Linked DNA regions of Homo sapiens: all the other regions are linked to region 3. Evidence: promoter capture Hi-C in 16 types of primary human blood cells and fetal thymus (Javierre and others, 2016). All regions are on one chromosome and are shown on one strand. The core of a region is centred on a gene start or on the middle of the fragment in contact, and the rest is flanking DNA. Distances in the headings are between cores, read along the strand shown. Region 1 holds the start of MTOR-AS1 (MTOR antisense RNA 1). Region 2 holds the start of ANGPTL7 (angiopoietin like 7). Region 3 holds the start of C1orf167 (chromosome 1 open reading frame 167). Region 4 holds the start of CIROZ (ciliated left-right organizer protein containing ZP-N domains). Region 5 holds the start of MASP2 (MBL associated serine protease 2).

What was found. The method cuts DNA at HindIII sites, captures the fragments that hold promoters and counts their contacts. A CHiCAGO score of 5 or more calls a contact.
Region 1: a contact is called between the fragment with the promoter of MTOR-AS1 here and the fragment with the promoter of C1orf167 in region 3, in 17 of 17 cell types (naive CD8 T cells, total B cells, naive B cells and 14 more). The highest score is 18.3, in naive CD8 T cells.
Region 2: a contact is called between the fragment with the promoter of ANGPTL7 here and the fragment with the promoter of C1orf167 in region 3, in 9 of 17 cell types (total B cells, naive B cells, total CD4 T cells and 6 more). The highest score is 8.9, in total B cells.
Region 4: a contact is called between the fragment with the promoter of CIROZ here and the fragment with the promoter of C1orf167 in region 3, in 12 of 17 cell types (total B cells, naive CD8 T cells, naive CD4 T cells and 9 more). The highest score is 12.0, in total B cells.
Region 5: a contact is called between the fragment with the promoter of MASP2 here and the fragment with the promoter of C1orf167 in region 3, in 1 of 17 cell types (M2 macrophages). The highest score is 5.1, in M2 macrophages.

The regions. Positions count from the first base shown.
Region 1 is chr1:11,142,334-11,145,880 of GRCh38, reverse strand. It overlaps MTOR-AS1 (MTOR antisense RNA 1), which reads right to left and starts at 1,983. Exons shown (of 4, transcript NR_046600.1): 1 at 1,894-1,983; 2 at 995-1,214; 3 at 602-728. It overlaps MTOR (mechanistic target of rapamycin kinase), which reads left to right. Exons shown (of 58, transcript NM_004958.4): 33 at 836-913; 34 at 1,126-1,233. The HindIII fragment of the contact is 11,786 bases long and covers 1,860-3,547 here.
Region 2 is chr1:11,187,574-11,191,117 of GRCh38, reverse strand. It overlaps ANGPTL7 (angiopoietin like 7), which reads right to left and starts at 1,763. Exons shown (of 5, transcript NM_021146.4): 1 at 1,163-1,763. The coding sequence starts at 1,538. The region is part of intron 28 of MTOR (mechanistic target of rapamycin kinase); the gene reads left to right. RefSeq lists an enhancer at 910-1,410. The HindIII fragment of the contact is 1,155 bases long and covers 1,710-2,864 here.
Region 3 is chr1:11,760,871-11,764,395 of GRCh38, reverse strand. It overlaps C1orf167 (chromosome 1 open reading frame 167), which reads right to left and starts at 2,203. Exons shown (of 21, transcript NM_001010881.2): 1 at 2,091-2,203; 2 at 1-65. It also overlaps the pseudogene LOC101060126. The HindIII fragment of the contact is 5,648 bases long and covers 1-3,525 here.
Region 4 is chr1:10,980,153-10,983,341 of GRCh38, reverse strand. It overlaps CIROZ (ciliated left-right organizer protein containing ZP-N domains), which reads left to right and starts at 1,266. Exons shown (of 13, transcript NM_001170754.2): 1 at 1,266-1,330. The coding sequence starts at 1,305. The HindIII fragment of the contact is 7,392 bases long and covers 1-3,189 here.
Region 5 is chr1:11,045,329-11,048,807 of GRCh38, reverse strand. It overlaps MASP2 (MBL associated serine protease 2), which reads left to right and starts at 1,569. Exons shown (of 11, transcript NM_006610.4): 1 at 1,569-1,605; 2 at 1,689-1,917; 3 at 2,075-2,252; 4 at 3,269-3,400. The coding sequence starts at 1,601. RefSeq lists an enhancer at 2,232-3,064. The HindIII fragment of the contact is 27,395 bases long and covers 1-3,479 here.

The DNA of each region.
Region 1 (3,547 bases), core at 734-3,233, 620 kb after region 3:
GAGCCATTGAAGTGTGTGCAGAATCTATTTTCATAAACATGCCCAGCAAGAAAAAGTTAAAAGAGGGTAGATCCCCAGGCTGGGCACAGTGGCTCACACCTGTAATCGCAGCACTTTGGGAGGCCGAGGCAGACGGATCACTTGAGACCAGGAGTTCAAGACCAGCCTGCCCAACATGGTGAAACCCTATCTCTACTAAAAATACAAAAATTAGCTGGGCGTGGTGGCGGGCGCCTGTAACCCCAGCATCCCAGCTACTTGGGAGGCTGAGGCAAGAGAATCGCTTGAACCAACATGGAGAAACCCTATCTCTACTAAAAATACAAAAATTAGCTGGGCGTGGTGGCGGGCGCCTGTAACCCCAGCATCCCAGCTACTTGGGAGGCTGAGGCAAGAGAATCACTTGAACCCGGGAGGTGGAGACTGCAGTGAGCCAAGATCACACCACTGCACTCCAGCCTGGGTGACAGAGTGAGACTGTGTCTCAGAAGAAAAAAAAAAGGTAGATCCCCAGTTATGTCCTCTTGAGATGCAAGAACCCATGATTCGGTTTTACAGCCCACATTCCCATGCCCTTGCCACCTAAGATTTTGTGTGTTACCTTAGATAGATGTTAAAGTTTTGGATGCCATACATTTCTGTCTTCGATGAGAAATTGGATAATACCTCCTCTCAAGCCATTCAGTTCTGGGAAAATGCCCTTCTTCAGCGAATTTCTCTTTTCATCCCTGGAATTTAAGTGAGACAGATAACTTCTGTAGCTAGTTGGGGTGCCCTAAAATAACCCTAAGCTCCCAAGTCCAGAGCTCAGTCCCAAGGGTTGTTTCTCTTCTAGTGCATTGACAAGGCCAGGGACCTGCTGGATGCTGAATTAACTGCGATGGCAGGAGAGAGTTACAGTCGGGCATATGGGGTAAGTGTCAACTATTCTGCACATTGTCATTTTTGAGGCTTATTTCCATACTTTTTTCAGAATGGGCTATTGAGAACTTACAGGCTGCTGGAAACATGCCTGTTTTCTCTGATCGGCAGATACCCTGACACCAGAAGGAATGATTTAAATTAATCCTGTCTTTTGGATTGTTCGTGCAGTAATTAGTTTGGAATGCGATTTGCTTCCATCAGGCCATGGTTTCTTGCCACATGCTGTCCGAGCTGGAGGAGGTTATCCAGTACAAACTTGTCCCCGAGCGACGAGAGATCATCCGCCAGATCTGGTGGGAGAGACTGCAGGTGAGCTTGGTAGAAAGCCCCAGTTCACCCACCTACCCCTACCCCTTCCAGGACCTGGGTGAGTGCCCCCCTCCACCCTGGCTCTTACTCAACTTGCTTTTCCTGCCTCCTCCACCAGTGTATTGCTTGGCTTGCATACAAAGCAGAATACTCAAAGGCTCCTCACCTAAACTTAAGCTGTGAGAGAATGACCAATTTTCCAGTCTCTTCTTATTCTCTTCTCTAGGAATTAAAAAAAATGTTTTTTAGTAAGTGACACCTGTGACCAGTCAGTTAGGAATCATAACCTCAAAATCAGTGGTTCTCAACCTTAGCAGCACAGTAGAATCACCTGCAGAGCTTTTTAAAATCCTGATGCCCAGGCTATTCCCCAGGCCAATTAAATTTCTGGGGAGAGACTCAGGATCAGTATCTTTTCAGGTTCCCCCAGATGATTCCACCAGCCAAAGCTAAGAACCACTGCTCTAACTACACTTGGAGGCCACCTGCACCAGCTTTTCAGATGGGGTTGCCTTAGGTTCTCATTGGCCAACTCCTGCTATTTATAGCTACTTAGGTCAGAGTCATCCTGTCGCCTCTATTGAGACTTTTTTTCCACTGCAGTTTCCGCTTGTAGAGAAGAAGCTTTCCCAAGTCCTCCATCAGTGTTTTCATTCTCACATTCTGATCATTTTAACATGAGAAACTGTCACTCCAGGTCTGGGAGTCAGGAGTCTAAATGTTCTGGGAAGGATGGCCAGTTATCCCATTCCTTGAGTGGGTAGGATAGGAAGTTCATCAGCAAAAGAAAAAAGAGAGAAAGCCTTTACCACTCCAGAAACCATTTGTCTCCCTACCTATCATAATCCATCCCCGCAATTATAAACCATTTCCTCTCAACTAGATCCCCACCTAATTGCTAATTCCAAATTCTCGCTTCAGACCAATCGAAGTTTGTGCTTCCAGGCGTCTCAGTAGGCTGCGACAAAACCTTTTGACTCCAAACACATTCCTGCCTAGGAAGCTCAGGGCACATTCCCCTGGACAGGAAAGAGCAATGGGCAAAGGAACATCTATGAATACAGTCATTTATGGCTCTGAAATGAGCACATACAGTTCTTTTACATGTTTTATTAGTAATTATGAAATGCCCAGTGAATGTTTTGATGGAAAATTGTCTCCTGGGCACCAGAAAGAATTCCACAAATAAGCATTTCCCACTTGATTTGTACACACCCCAATTCTTTGAAATGCCTATAATAAAGAGTTTCTACAGCAGAGATCTGATGAACCTTCTGACAGTCTGACAAGTGGGACTTGATCCAAATGTAGACTTAGAGGAGAGGGGAGGCATGGAATGAGTCCTGGGAAGAGAGATGCCTGTCTGACTTTACTGGGTCCAGGACACTGCCACCACCTTAAGCCTTCGTGACTTTCCTATCTTGAGGCAGCAAGATGCTTTTTGGCTTACAGGAGGCCAAATTATTTCAGCATCTGGGAGAACCTAACTATTGGTGAGAAGTCACAAAAAACAATCACTCAGTGTACTTTTTTCTGTTATTTTAACTTTCGAAATCATTGTTGTCACACTTCATGGGATGGAAAAATGTGGTCCAAGGCCTGAAAGTAAAGCATTACATTTATAGTGGAAATTTGGCTCTTGTGGATGGCTTGCTGTCAAATGAACTGCTGGGGCTAGAAAACTGCCATTTTGTGGTCAAATCATTTAAATTAAAATCCCCAACCAGTATTATAGTAGTGGAAAAATACATGTTTGTTACTTTTCTTTGGAGTTGCACCAATGCTTTTGGTTCCTAAGACCCTCCCATAGGGCAGTTAGAGAGGTCAGCCTTACTGGCGCTGGGTCTCTTCTAGCCTTGGGTTCTCCAGTCAGGCTCAGACTGCATCTTATCATAGCTAAAAGCCTGAGATCATTGTCGCTAGACTTTTAAGTTTATCTCCATGGAGGACAGCTCCATGGGTTCATGGAATTTACCATGAAGCAGTAGATCTCAGGAACTCCCCTTCTGAGTCTGACTTCTTATCAACAAGGATGAAAAAGGAGTTCACTTGGCCAGGCATGGTGGCTCACACCTGTAATCCCAGCACTTTGGGAGGCTGAGGCAGGTGGATTGCTTGAGGTCAGGAGTTTGAGACTTAGCCTGGCCAACATAGAGAAACCCCCTCTCTGCTAAAAGAAAAAAATACAAAAATTAGCCAGGCGTGGTGGCGCACACCTGTAATCCCAGCTCCTTGGGAGGCTGAGGCAGGAGAATCGCTTGGACCTGGGAGGCAGAGGTTGCAGTGAGCCAAGATTGCGCCACTGCACTCCAGC
Region 2 (3,544 bases), core at 514-3,013, 570 kb after region 3:
AGTGGCACGGTCAGATTCCTCTGTCTGGCCTGGTCTTCCGCATGTCTGGTTTCATCTCACAGACCAAATCAGGACTCACTTGTCTGGAAAATGGCCTGAGAATACCTTTCTAATCCCAAACTGAGGGCCCGGAAGTCCATGCTTAGAAAGTGATTGATACATGTTGGTTCAGGTAACAGAATTTTCAAGCTTGGTTTCATGTTAAAACTTTTTCTTAATTTGAGCTGAGGTTAACCATTGACTTAGTCAGTAGAAGCTGATCATGTCTTTGTTCTTCATGTAGTTTATAATGGGACCAATGGTTTTTATATCAGCAAGAAATGACATGTCTATAGGATATGCTCCTTACAACTAATATTTTCCTGATAATTTCAGAAAACCAAATTTTTATCTCTAAACCGTAAATTCATGTTGGCCCACCTGAGCTGAGCTAACCAGAAATAAAAGTTATTTTGCAAAAGAAAGATTAAATTTATCTTATTTTTGGCCTATTAAGTCTATATTTCAGCATTGCATTTAAAAAATCCTGTATTCGGAGAAATTCATTTAAGACCATGGAAAAAAATAGACGTATCACAATTGAGGAACCTTAAGGAGCCGCATCCTTCCTGAACACAAAGGGACTCTTCACATGGTTATGTGTCTCTACACTTAACTCTGAGCCAATGAGAAGAGTTACGTTTACAGAGAGAGGACACAAAATTCCATTAATGCTCATTCCTGGTAAATCTTAGGAACACCAGAGAACTGTTTCTGGCAAAACTTTGCTTCCAGAGGAACAGCTGTTACAGTTTGGTGCTTCCTTGGAATTTCTTGAGATATAGCCTGTCAGCTCTTGGTGAGGAAGTAGCAGAGCTACACCAATCAGGAAGACTTGAACCCTGCTTCTAAGACTTGCTGGGTGACTTTGGGCAAACCATGTAGTATCTCAGCACTCCAAGATGGTAGGCTGAAACACTGTGTGGATAAAAGAGACCCGTGAAGGTGTTAGGTAAACTTACATAGCATTAGAAGTCAAAGGAAATACTGCATAAGCCTTTACTAAAGGGAAAGTGTACCCACAAAAGAGGCCCCAGTAGTGGTTCTGATGACCAGGATATGTAGAAGCAGTGCTGTAGATGGGGAGGCACTCCACGCTCCCTCAGGGGACTGGTCTCCTTACCTGCGGAGGTCTGAGTGACCGTCTGTGCTGCCTGCAGCTGCATGATGTCAATTTGGTTGTTCATCTCGGAGTACTTGCTCTCAGCATCTGTGAGCCGCGACTCCATGCGCTTGCTGTTGCTCTCCAGCTCCATCACCTGCATGACCACGCTGACCCAGTCCCTCTCCTGCTTCTTGTTCAGTTCACTCAGCAGGCTGCTAAGGTTGGCAACTTGGGCCTTGAGCTCCTTCACCTCCTCACAGCAGTTGGCCGCTTTGAGCTGTGGCTGTGCTGGTGTCTTGTGCTTAGAGAGCTTCTGCAGCCACGCTGGGTGGCTGACAAAGGCCACGATGAAAATGCAGAGCCAGGTCACAGCTGAGAGAGGCTTTTTCAGCATCTTTTGTGGGTTTGGGTGAGGAAGGCTCTTCCTTCAGGGGAGTCTGGAGATGCCCAGCTGAGGTCTGCAAAGCTGCAGCAGGCTGACTGAACCTTACGCTTTCACTCTGAGGGCCTCGCCACTTTGTTGTTTTCTCTCTTTCCTTGCTCTTTGCTAGCCTTTCTCAAAGCTTGAGTCTCTGACAGGGGAGCTGAATGGGTAGCCTATAGCTTTCCTTCCAAGCCCGAATGCTCCACAAGTCAGCATCTTAAATATTGTTTGCTGCCTGTACCTCCACCCCTACCATGGCTGCACCAGGCTTTAGCCCCTCCCAGCTCATCTGGGAGGGTCAGGTGCCTGTTGGGTGAAGTCAGCGGCAACTTAGGCCAGAGGAGGGGAGGAGGGAGATGGGGCGAGTCTTTCTTTCCTTGCCTGTACAGTCTCTGGGCTAAGACAAGAGGACTGTGAATTTGTGTGTTTCCAGTTTCGCCTATTAGATTATGCCCCTGCCAGCCACTGGCTCAACTCTATCAGCAAGCAGGACAGGGTCAGAAGAATTTCCAAATTCCGTTCAAAAGGTTATATAACCATGGGGTGAGCGTAAGGTAGGCGAAAGAGACGCTACTCACCCAGGGAGGCCTGTTAATGTAATCCATGCTGTTTATATGAGGATCTGGTATATTTTGACATCCTGCTGAATATGCTTTTATCTAGGCTGATTATTCCCATCTCTGATCATTATTTAGTATTTTATAAAATCCTTACTCAACCTGGATCTAACACTATCTCACATTTGAAATCTTCCAACTTAGAAAAGTTCTAGAAATAGAAGAATAGAGTAAATCTCTTAGGAAGCCAAAAAAAGACTTTGTAGCCACAGGGTTTGGACAGTTGTCTTTTTACATGCTTTCTCCTTCAACAAAGAGAGGGCCAGTATTAGCATATAACACTTGATATTTTGCAAGGAGGTGTCAGAAGATTACAACAGAGATGAAAACTCAGCAGTGCCAAGCATGTCTGGGATTGGTCACCCATGCTTCTGTCAGTTTCTAGGCAGGACAGAGAACAGGCCCATCCTTAGCCCGTGGTTCAAAACTTGGAAAATATATTAAAATATAGAGAAAAGAATCCCTGTCACCTAATAAATCCATATCTAGAGTCTCATTTCCCTCTTTCTTTGCTGGTATGGTTTGCAATTTGAAATTATTCCTCCTCTATTTGTATATGACTTTGTATCTAAAAAACATGAATATTGTAATTTTTCATGTACTATATATGAAGGACAATGCTCTTTTGAAAAGAAATGTGAAAAACATGGAGTTTCAGCAAACATCCTTAAAATAAGCTTTTCACTAAGAATCTATACAAAGGTTCCTCTGTCCTTAAAACAGTAACTCTGTCTTTGGAACATACGATTGCTGTTTCCATGTTATGGAGCCACTCAGGCAGTTACTTGTACTGTTGTAGTCAGCGTGGGTCCTTCCCACATAAGCCTGATGCCTGACAGCTCTCCTCCCATGCCATAATCCCCCAGAGCTCTTTTCCAGTCAGGGCTTCTAGCTCCTCAGAAAGTAATTTCTGTTCAGGCAGCTGGAGTTACTGAACAATTTTTTTTTTTCTCAGAATCAAAAAGCAGTGGAGGATCAGGTGGATCAGAGTTTGTTTTCTCACATACCCAGCCTCCTTTGCCTGCTAAAGGGTGAGGATGTTACTGATACCCTTATAGCAACTTGGCATTCTAATCAAAAGATTCTGTTGAGAATTGGCACTGTCTGCCAGTCTGCTCTCTTTTTGCAAATGTCTAGCCCAGCTGGGCACCACAGCCTTAGCTCCATAGCATTCATTTTAGTAACGAGACTCTGGCCCCAAATATTGGCATCCTACAAGGTCTGCTAAAAATAGGGATTTTCAAGTGGATCTCCTGGCCATCAAATGACACTGAGCTTAAACCACATGCCACAGAAGTGCTATGTACCATACAGTCATGTATAGCAGGGGTCCCTAATCCCCAGGCTGCAGACCTGTAC
Region 3 (3,525 bases), core at 954-3,453:
CAGGGACAGGAGTATCCTTGGTCCACTCCACAGTGAGTGGCCTGGTCTGTTTAATCAGATGGGCCCTGCGGGGAGAGGACAGGTTGCCCTGGCTCTCATTCAACCCCACCCCATTCTGATCCCTACCTCCTCCCTTTAGCAGTACTCCTAGCTGCTCTTGGCCTGGTCCCAGCTGCCTGGGGCCTGCCCCTCACTGTTCTGGTCTCTCAGTGGCTCCTCTCCCTGCCCTACTTATCACCCCCCTTTCCATATTAAGTGTCCAGGTCAAATGCTGCCCCATCCTGCCCCCCAGACCTCTCGGCTGATCTGCATACAGGTCTGAACATGCAGGTCCAGCGACCTCCTCCACGCCTACCCGGATGTCTAACAGGCATCTCAGCATTAATATGTCCAAAACTGAACTCCAGCCGTCCTCGCAACCAGCTCTCTCCCATCTTGGTGCCCCCCTTTTCCACGGATGGCAGCTCCGGCCTTCTGGTGGCTCAAACAAAAATCCTGGAGCCACCCCGATTCCCCTTCTCCCTCACACCAGTGGCTGCTCTGACAGGCTCTGCCTCCCACACGCATCCAGGATCTGACCCCTGGAGCACTGGGCGGAGTGGCCCTCACCTGCCACCTCCCAACTGGTCACCCTTATTCTGCCTCGTCCTCACGCCCGACAGCCTCCTCTTCATGCGGCGGCAGGGTGATCCTGTAAACACTGAAATCAAATCATGCCCTGCCTCAACTCTAATGCCACAGAAGCTCTCCAGCCCCCTCAATGCCCCGTGAGCCTTCAAGGCTGTAGGCCAGAGGTTAGCAAATTACTGCCTGGGCCAGTGGTCTATTATGTGAATAAAGTTATATTGAAACAAAGCCCATTTGTTTACAGACTGTCTGCTTTCCAGCTGCAATAGCAGAGCTCAATAGCTGCAAGATACCTTAGGCTGCAAAACCTTTTTTTTTTTTTTTTTGAGCCGGAGTCTCACTTTGCCACCCAGGCTGGTACAATGGCGTGATCCCGGCTCACTGCAACCTCCGCCTGCCTCCCTGGGCTCAAGGGATCCTCCCACCTCAGCCTCTAACAAGCTGGAACCACAGGCACATGCCACCACGCCAGACTAATTTTTCTATTTTTTGGTAGAGACAGGGTTTCACCATGATGGCCAGGATGGTCTCGAACTCCTGACCTCAGGTGATTGGCCCGCCTCGGCCTCCCAAAGTGCTGGGATTACAGGCGTGAGCCACCACACCCAGCCCCGCAAAGTCTTTAAAATCTGGCTGCCAGTTATGGTCCTCCCCAATTCCTCTTCCCCTTGCCCACTGTCCTCCACACACACCAGCCCCCTGGCTGCTCCTCCAAATGGCACACACGACCTCACCTCAGCGCCTCTGTGCTGCTGTCCCCTCTGCCTTCAAGTCTTGCCTCCCACATCACAGTGAGCCCTCCCTGCCCACTGTCTCTCCAACTGCAGCAACCTGGCCTCTCCTCACTCTCTTTGCCCTGCACTTGCGGCCACCTAACATAGTGAAGAAATTAGTGTATTTCTCCCTCCAGTGGCCTAGGAGCCACACGAGGGCAGGCTGGTTTTTTTTGTTTGTTTGTTTCCCTGCTGGATTTGCAGCCCATAGAACAATGCCTGACCCCCAGCAGGGGCTTGTAAATGCACATTGAATAAATGACAACCGTGCTAGGCACCTTGCAGCCTTCAGCAGGCGTCCTGCCATTTAATCTGCACTGCAGCCCTGGGACTTAGGTTCCCTGTTTTAGAAATGAGGACAGGAGCTTAGAAGGGCCTGTCCCACCCAAGGCCTCAGAGGGAGCACCCCAGGGCTGGCTCCACAGCGCAGACTCCTAACCAAGAACACCCCACCATCCCCTCTTGCCCAAGTTGACTTGAGGCCGCTCAATCCACAGGAGACCTTCCTGCACCCCTGCCCCTCACGCCGGAGCTCTTCGGTCCATTTCTCCGCTCCTCGTCCGTCTCCCTCAGACTCCCCCCTCCCACTCCACCCCCACCCCTGTCCACTTAAGGGGGCTCACAGCCTCCCTCCTCTTGCCACCAAAAGAGTCTGAGGTCAGTTTCCTGCCCTCATGGATCTGCCCTCACGTGCGTGGGTCCTCCTCGGGTCCTCCTTCACCCAGTCGGATTTGAATCTAGACGGGGGCTGGGACCGCTAACGATCCCCGCAGGTCGGCAGGTCGCGGGCGGGAGGGGACGTCGGAGAGCAGAGCGTGCTGCCCCGCGCTTGGCCCCGCCCAGCCCTGAGCCGTGGGCGTGGCCACCGACGTCCTGGTACAGGTTTTGCCGGGTCCTCCGCAGGCAAGGCACGTGGTCCCAGGGCAACTTTTGCACGTGCAAGATGAGCGACATTCTCTTGGCCATCAGGTCCCCGGGAACCTCCTCCACCCTCTGCCCCGAATCCTGTGGCAGCATCACTGGGGTCTGGGCTTCCTCCACCAGGCGTGCCTCCTCTTGGCTCCTTCCCGCACCTAGAGCTGCCTCCTGGAGCCCCCGCACATCTGGGATACCCCCAGCCATGTCCCCACCACCTATGCCTCTTGGGGCTGCAGGACATGCCCCCGGCTCCCACTGGTAGGAACCCCAGGGGCAGGACATCCGGGTCATGGACACTCACATCCTCACCCGTTCCCAATAGGTGCGATGTCCCATCCAGGGATGTCTCAGATGCAGCTGGCAAACCATGGCCCTCATGGCTGAGGACACACCCGTGATGGGACCCCAGGATCTGGGGGGCAGCCACCACCCTGATCACCACCTGGAATGCCTCATCCTGGACCTCCTCCAATGAGCATGTCCCCCAAGGGGTCTCGGTCTGGATCTCCCATGGGTCACTCACGTCCTATGCCTCCATGGTATGTGTGGACCTCCTCCACCGATGCTGCCTCATGGATACACTGGCCCTCCCCAACACCCACCCTATGGCTTCCGGGGGGGACTCTCCCTCCACCCAGACCCACTCCGGGGCCTCCAGTTCCCCCTCAAGGCCCACTTTGGGGCCCTCTCCCTCAGTAAATTCACATTCTTCTTCCTCCTGTTATATCTTCCCAATATCTTTTTGATTCCTTGGACCAGAGATGCTGCAGCTCCTTGCAACTAAGGCACAAATCCCTTTCAGCCTTCCCATCTTCCTTTTTAATGCCATTTTTTTCCCCATAGAAGGTATTTCTTTTTCATGTTGGTCCTAAGTATTTTGCAAATGCAAAGGAAAATAAAACTATAACAAATTTCTTGTTAAAAGAAAGAAAGAAAGAAAGGCTAGGCACAGTGGCTCACACCTGTAATCCCAGCACTTTGGGAGGCTGAGGTGGACGGATCACAAGATCAGGAGTTCAAGACCAGCCTGGCCAACATGGTGAAACCCTGTCTCTACTAAAAATACAAAAATTAGCCGGGCATGGTGGCGGGCACCTGTAATCCCAGCTACTCAGGAGGCTGAGGCAGGAGAATCACTTGAACCTGGGAGGCAAGGGTTGCAGAGAGCCAAGATCCTGCCATTGCACTCCAGCCTGAGCAACAGACC
Region 4 (3,189 bases), core at 17-2,516, 780 kb after region 3:
TGGAGTGCAATGGCACGATCTCAGCTGTCTGCAATCTCTGCCTTCCAGGTTCAAGCGATTCTCCTGCCTCAGCCTCCAGAGTAGCTGGGATTACAGGTGCCCACCACCAAGCCCGGCTATTTTTTGTATTTTTGGTAGAGACAGGGTTTCACCATGTTGGCCAGGCTGGTCTCAAACTCCTGACCTGATGATCCACCCACCTCAGCCTCCCAAAGTGCTAGGATTACAGGCGTGAGTCACTGCGCCTGGTCTTTTTTTTTTTTTTTTTTTTTTTTTTTTTTTTTTTTTTTTTTTTTAGACGGAGTTTTGCTCTTGTCACCCAGGCTGCAGTACAATGGTACGATCTTGGCTCACTGCAACCTCCATCTCCCGGGTTCAAGCAATTCTCCTGCCTTAACTTCCCAAGTAGCTGGGATTACAGGCGTGCACCCCCACACCTGGCTAGTTTTGTATTTTTAGTAGAGATAAGGTTTCACCATGTTGGCCAGGCTGGTCTCGAAGTCCTGACATCAGGTGATCAGCCTGCCTCGCCCTCCCAAATCACTGGGATTATGGGCATGAGTGACTGTGCCCGGCCCCTTTTTTTTTTTTTTTTAGACAGGGTCTTGTTCTGTTGCCCAGGCTGGAGTGCAGTAGCACAATCAGGGCTCACTGCAGCCTCAACCTCCTGGGCTCAAGCAATCCTCTCACCTCAGCCTCCTGAGTAGCTAGGACCACAGGTGTGTGCCACCATGCCCAGCTAGTTTTTAAATTTTTTGTAGAGACAGGGTCTTGCCATGTTCCCCTGGCTTGTTTCGAACTCCTGACCTCAAACAATCTGCCCATCTCTGCATCCCAAAATGCTGGGGTTACAGGCATGAGCCACCATGCCTGGCCCCTCAGCTCCTTTTGAACTCTGCCAGGAGGGGCCTGGAGCAGGGTTCTGGGAAGCCCCATCAAGACAGCGTGACTGTTCCTCCGGTGAAGCTCAGTTTCTTAGCTTCTTTCCTTCCTTGGGCACAGAGACAGGCTTCTCCCGGGAGCGGAGAATGAGGGCCTGCACTCCAGCCTCAGTGGATCAATTCATCTTCAGCCTTCTGATCCGCAATCTTATTTTGAGCTCCCACGGCTGAAGCAATTCATCTCACCCATGCAGAGGGATGGGGAGAAGCTGAGAGTGTTGACACCCACCTGTGTTTTCTGGCACCTGAGTGACCCGAGACCTGCACTGGAGGGGAAGGGGAGGAGCCAACCTTTCGTTTAGTTGCTTGGAACTGCTTCAGATTAAATTCTCCCAGGGCAGGAGAGAGCTGCTGGGCCTGAGGATGTGGGGGTCCCCAGCACTTGCCTGGTAAGTGTCCCTTATTCAGGAATTGGGAGAAGCCAGTGGCATGCTTAGTGTGCCCACACTCCTTGAAGAAGCCAAATATCTTCCATCAGAATCAGAAGCCTTGCATCTAAGAGGGAAGGGGGCCAAATGGGTGAGGGGCCCAGATGCATGGATGCCTTGGGAAGGGCTGACTTTCTCAGGTGAGGTCCGGCCACAGTCTCTCCCACCTTTCTCATGCTCCTGTCATCCCTTGTTCTGGAATTCCAGTCCTCCCATCTTGGGAAGGATTTCCAGAAGATTGGGAGAAAACAGAACACGTCTTCCTTGTCCTAGAGGGTCCTTAAAACAAAACAAATTAGGGGTCAAGTTGACCAAGAGATGCTTGATTTCAAGGAGTTTTCAAATGATAGGAGTTGTGGTCGCTAGCTATTCGATTGTAAGGATTAGGAGAAAATTTCATTTTCCTTCCTTCCCTCCCTTCCTTCCTTCCCTCCCTGCCTTCCTTCCTTTCTCCTTCCTTCCTTCCCTTTCCTTTCTTTTCTCTTTCTCTCTCTCTCTCCCTCTCTGTCTCTCCTTCTTCCTGAGATAGAGTCTTGCTCTGTTGCCCAGGCTGGAGTGCAGTGGCAAGATCATAGTTCACTGTCATCTCTTAACTCCTGGGCTCAAGTGATCATCCCACTTTAGCCTCCTGAGTAGCTGGGACCATAGGCATGTGCCACCACACTTTGGTAATTTTTTAATTTTTTTGTAGAGACAGGGTCTTACTGTGTTGCCCAGGCTGGTCTTAAACTCCTGGGTTCAAGCCATCCTCCTGTCTCGGCCTCCCAAAGTATTGGGATTACGGGCATGACTCACTGCACTTGGCCAAAATCTCATTTTCCTTGGCAACAGAATTGCTACCTCTTTTCCCCATCTGAGATGCATTTTTAAGAGATACTTTAAAAAGCTCCTGAGAGTGGGAAGTGAAGCCTCCCAGGCCAGCTGGAATGTCACAATAGCTGGCTTGTGGCCTTTGGGCCGTGGACTGCAGGGCTTTTGTTGGGCGTTTTGTGAGGTTGAAGTCTGTAGACAATGAAGGCAGTGGAGAAGCTGAGTGGGGCTTTGTGGGGCTGGGCGAGCAAGGGGGAGGTCCGGGCCCTGTCCTGGGGACCCATTGCCTTCTCCTGGATGCCCCATGAGGGGGCTCAGCTTTGGGGGATGGAGCATCATGTCTCCCCCCAGACTGGGATGGGGCAGTTCTGGGTCTGAGAAGTGAGGGGGAAAAACCCAAACCCACATCTTTCTCCCGATTGATGCTCAAGGAGGAGAACAGGAGCAGGCATCAGACGGAGGGGAGAGCTGTCTACCCCCCACCTGCCACCGGGCCGATTCCAGACAGCATTCCCTGTGTAACAGCAGAGTCGGGGTCCCTGGCAAGGCCGGGACTCAGCACCAGAGTCAGCCACTTTCCTTTTCCCCAAGATTATTCTTCTGGTCCTGTCTCAGATTTACTCGCTCTGGGAGAACCTTCCTTCAAGACCAATTGCCCCAGCCAGGTTTTTGTTTTGCAAATTAATCAACTAATAATAGCGCCTCCCCGCTGCTGGGAGAGGAATTCCGCATTGGGCTCAGTGTCCAGGCAGCAGAGCCCAGGGCGGGTACCCGGCCGTCCATGGGAGAGGCTCGCCACAGGCGCTTCTGAATTCAGCGAATGAAGCGGGGCAGCGGGGCAGCCAGGCAGCCGCAAGCTCCTCCCAGCTCAAAGGCTGCAGGCTCAGCTTAGATTCCAGGCTGGGGAACCAGTCCTGTCATTCTTTGCCAACCCACTCTGGGGAGACTGTGGGCCCTGGCATTTGGCCTCCCTGGGCTGGGCCTGAGGCCCTGGCCCTCTGCCCACCCAG
Region 5 (3,479 bases), core at 320-2,819, 710 kb after region 3:
GACTAAAGGTGCATGCCACCATGCCTGGCTAATTTAAAAAAATTTTTTTTTTTTTTAGAGACAAGGTCTTGCTATGTTGCCCAAGCTGGTCTTGAACTCCCGGTCTCAGGCGACCCACCTGCCTCAGCCTCCCAGCCTCCTGGGATTATGGGCAGGAGTCACTACACCCAGCCAGAGTCCCGGTCTCTAAAAGAAAATAGGCCAGGCATGGTGGCTCACGCCTGTAATCCCAGCACTTTGGGAGGCTGAGGCGGGTGGATCACCTGTGGTTGGGAGTTCGAGACCAGCCTGACCAACATGGAGAAACTCCGTCTCTACTAAAAATACAAAACTAGCCGGACGTGGTGGCGCATGCCTGTAATCCCAGCTACTCGGGAGGCTGAGGCAGGAGAATTGCTCGAACCCCGGAGGCAGAGGTTTGGTGGCTCACACCTGTAATCCCAGCACTTTGCGAGGCTGAGGCAGGTGCATCGCTTTGGCTCAGGAGTTCAAGACCAGCCTGGGCAACACAGGGAGACCCCCATCTCTACAAAAAACAAAAACAAATATAAAGGGGATAAAAAAAAAAAAAAGACAAGACATGAATCCATGAGGACAGAGTGTGGAAGAGGAAGCAGCAGCCTCAAAGTTCTGGAAGCTGGAAGAACAGATAAACAGGTGTGAAATAACTGCCTGGAAAGCAACTTCTTTTTTTTTTTTTTTTTTTTTGAGGTGGAGTCTCACTCTGTCGTCCAGGCTGGAGTGCAGTGGTGCGATCTCGGATCACTGCAACCTCCGCCTCCCAGGCTCAAGCAATTCTCCTGCCTCAGCCTCCCGAGTAGCTGGGATTATAAGTGCGCGCTGCCACACCTGGATGATTTTTGTATTTTTAGTAGAGATGGGATTTCACCATGTTGGTCAGGCTGGTCTCAAACTCCCAACCTCGTGATCCACCCACCTTGGCCTCCCAAAGTGCTGGGATTACAGGTATAAGCCACCGAGCCCAGCCAAAAGCGACTTCTAAGCCTGCAAGGGAATCGGGAATTGGTGGCACCAGGTCCTTCTGACAGGGTTTAAGAAATTAGCCAGCCTGAGGCTGGGCACGGTGGCTCACACCTGTAATCCCAGCACTTTGGGAGGCTAAGGCAGGTGGATCACCTGAGGGCAGGAGTTCAAGACCAGCCTGACCAACATGGAGAAACCCCATCCCTACCAAAAATAAAAAATTAGCCAGGTGTGGTGGTGCTCGCCTGTAATCCCAGCTACTTGGGAGGCTGAGGTGGGAGGATTGCTTGAACACAGGAAGTAGAGGCTGCAGTGAGCTATGATTGCAGCACTGCACTGAAGCCGGGGCAACAGAACAAGATCCAAAAAAAAGGGAGGGGTGAGGGGCAGAGCCAGGATTTGTTTCCAGGCTGTTGTTACCTAGGTCCGACTCCTGGCTCCCAGAGCAGCCTGTCCTGCCTGCCTGGAACTCTGAGCAGGCTGGAGTCATGGAGTCGATTCCCAGAATCCCAGAGTCAGGGAGGCTGGGGGCAGGGGCAGGTCACTGGACAAACAGATCAAAGGTGAGACCAGCGTAGGGCTGCAGACCAGGCCAGGCCAGCTGGACGGGCACACCATGAGGTAGGTGGGCGCCCACAGCCTCCCTGCAGGGTGTGGGGTGGGAGCACAGGCCTGGGCCCTCACCGCCCCTGCCCTGCCCATAGGCTGCTGACCCTCCTGGGCCTTCTGTGTGGCTCGGTGGCCACCCCCTTGGGCCCGAAGTGGCCTGAACCTGTGTTCGGGCGCCTGGCATCCCCCGGCTTTCCAGGGGAGTATGCCAATGACCAGGAGCGGCGCTGGACCCTGACTGCACCCCCCGGCTACCGCCTGCGCCTCTACTTCACCCACTTCGACCTGGAGCTCTCCCACCTCTGCGAGTACGACTTCGTCAAGGTGCCGTCAGGACGGGAGGGCTGGGGTTTCTCAGGGTCGGGGGGTCCCCAAGGAGTAGCCAGGGTTCAGGGACACCTGGGAGCAGGGGCCAGGCTTGGCCAGGAGGGAGATCAGGCCTGGGTCTTGCCTTCACTCCCTGTGACACCTGACCCCACAGCTGAGCTCGGGGGCCAAGGTGCTGGCCACGCTGTGCGGGCAGGAGAGCACAGACACGGAGCGGGCCCCTGGCAAGGACACTTTCTACTCGCTGGGCTCCAGCCTGGACATTACCTTCCGCTCCGACTACTCCAACGAGAAGCCGTTCACGGGGTTCGAGGCCTTCTATGCAGCCGAGGGTGAGCCAAGAGGGGTCCTGCAACATCTCAGTCTGCGCAGCTGGCTGTGGGGGTAACTCTGTCTTAGGCCAGGCAGCCCTGCCTTCAGTTTCCCCACCTTTCCCAGGGCAGGGGAGAGGCCTCTGGCCTGACATCATCCACAATGCAAAGACCAAAACAGCCGTGACCTCCATTCACATGGGCTGAGTGCCAACTCTGAGCCAGGGATCTGAGGACAGCATCGCCTCAAGTGACGCAGGGACTGGCCGGGCGCAGCAGCTCACGCCTGTAATTCCAGCACTTTGGGAGGCCGAGGCTGGCTGATCATTTGAGGTCAGGAGTTCAAGGCCAGCCAGGGCAACACGGTGAAACTCTATCTCCACTAAAACTACAAAAATTAGCTGGGCGTGGTGGTGCGCACCTGGAATCCCAGCTACTAGGGAGGCTGAGGCAGGAGAATTGCTTGAACCTGCGAGGTGGAGGCTGCAGTGAACAGAGATTGCACCACTACACTCCAGCCTGGGCGACAGAGCTAGACTCCGTCTCAAAAAACAAAAAACAAAAACGACGCAGGGGCCGAGGGCCCCATTTACAGCTGACAAAGTGGGGCCCTGCCAGCGGGAGCGCTGCCAGGATGTTTGATTTCAGATCCCAGTCCCTGCAGAGACCAACTGTGTGACCTCTGGCAAGTGGCTCAATTTCTCTGCTCCTTAGGAAGCTGCTGCAAGGGTTCAGCGCTGTAGCCCCGCCCCCTGGGTTTGATTGACTCCCCTCATTAGCTGGGTGACCTCGGGCCGGACACTGAAACTCCCACTGGTTTAACAGAGGTGATGTTTGCATCTTTCTCCCAGCGCTGCTGGGAGCTTGCAGCGACCCTAGGCCTGTAAGGTGATTGGCCCGGCACCAGTCCCGCACCCTAGACAGGACGAGGCCTCCTCTGAGGTCCACTCTGAGGTCATGGATCTCCTGGGAGGAGTCCAGGCTGGATCCCGCCTCTTTCCCTCCTGACGGCCTGCCTGGCCCTGCCTCTCCCCCAGACATTGACGAGTGCCAGGTGGCCCCGGGAGAGGCGCCCACCTGCGACCACCACTGCCACAACCACCTGGGCGGTTTCTACTGCTCCTGCCGCGCAGGCTACGTCCTGCACCGTAACAAGCGCACCTGCTCAGGTGAGGGAGGCTGCCTGGGCCCCAACGCACCCTCTCCTGGGATACCCGGGGCTCCTCAGGGCCATTGCTGCTCTGCCCA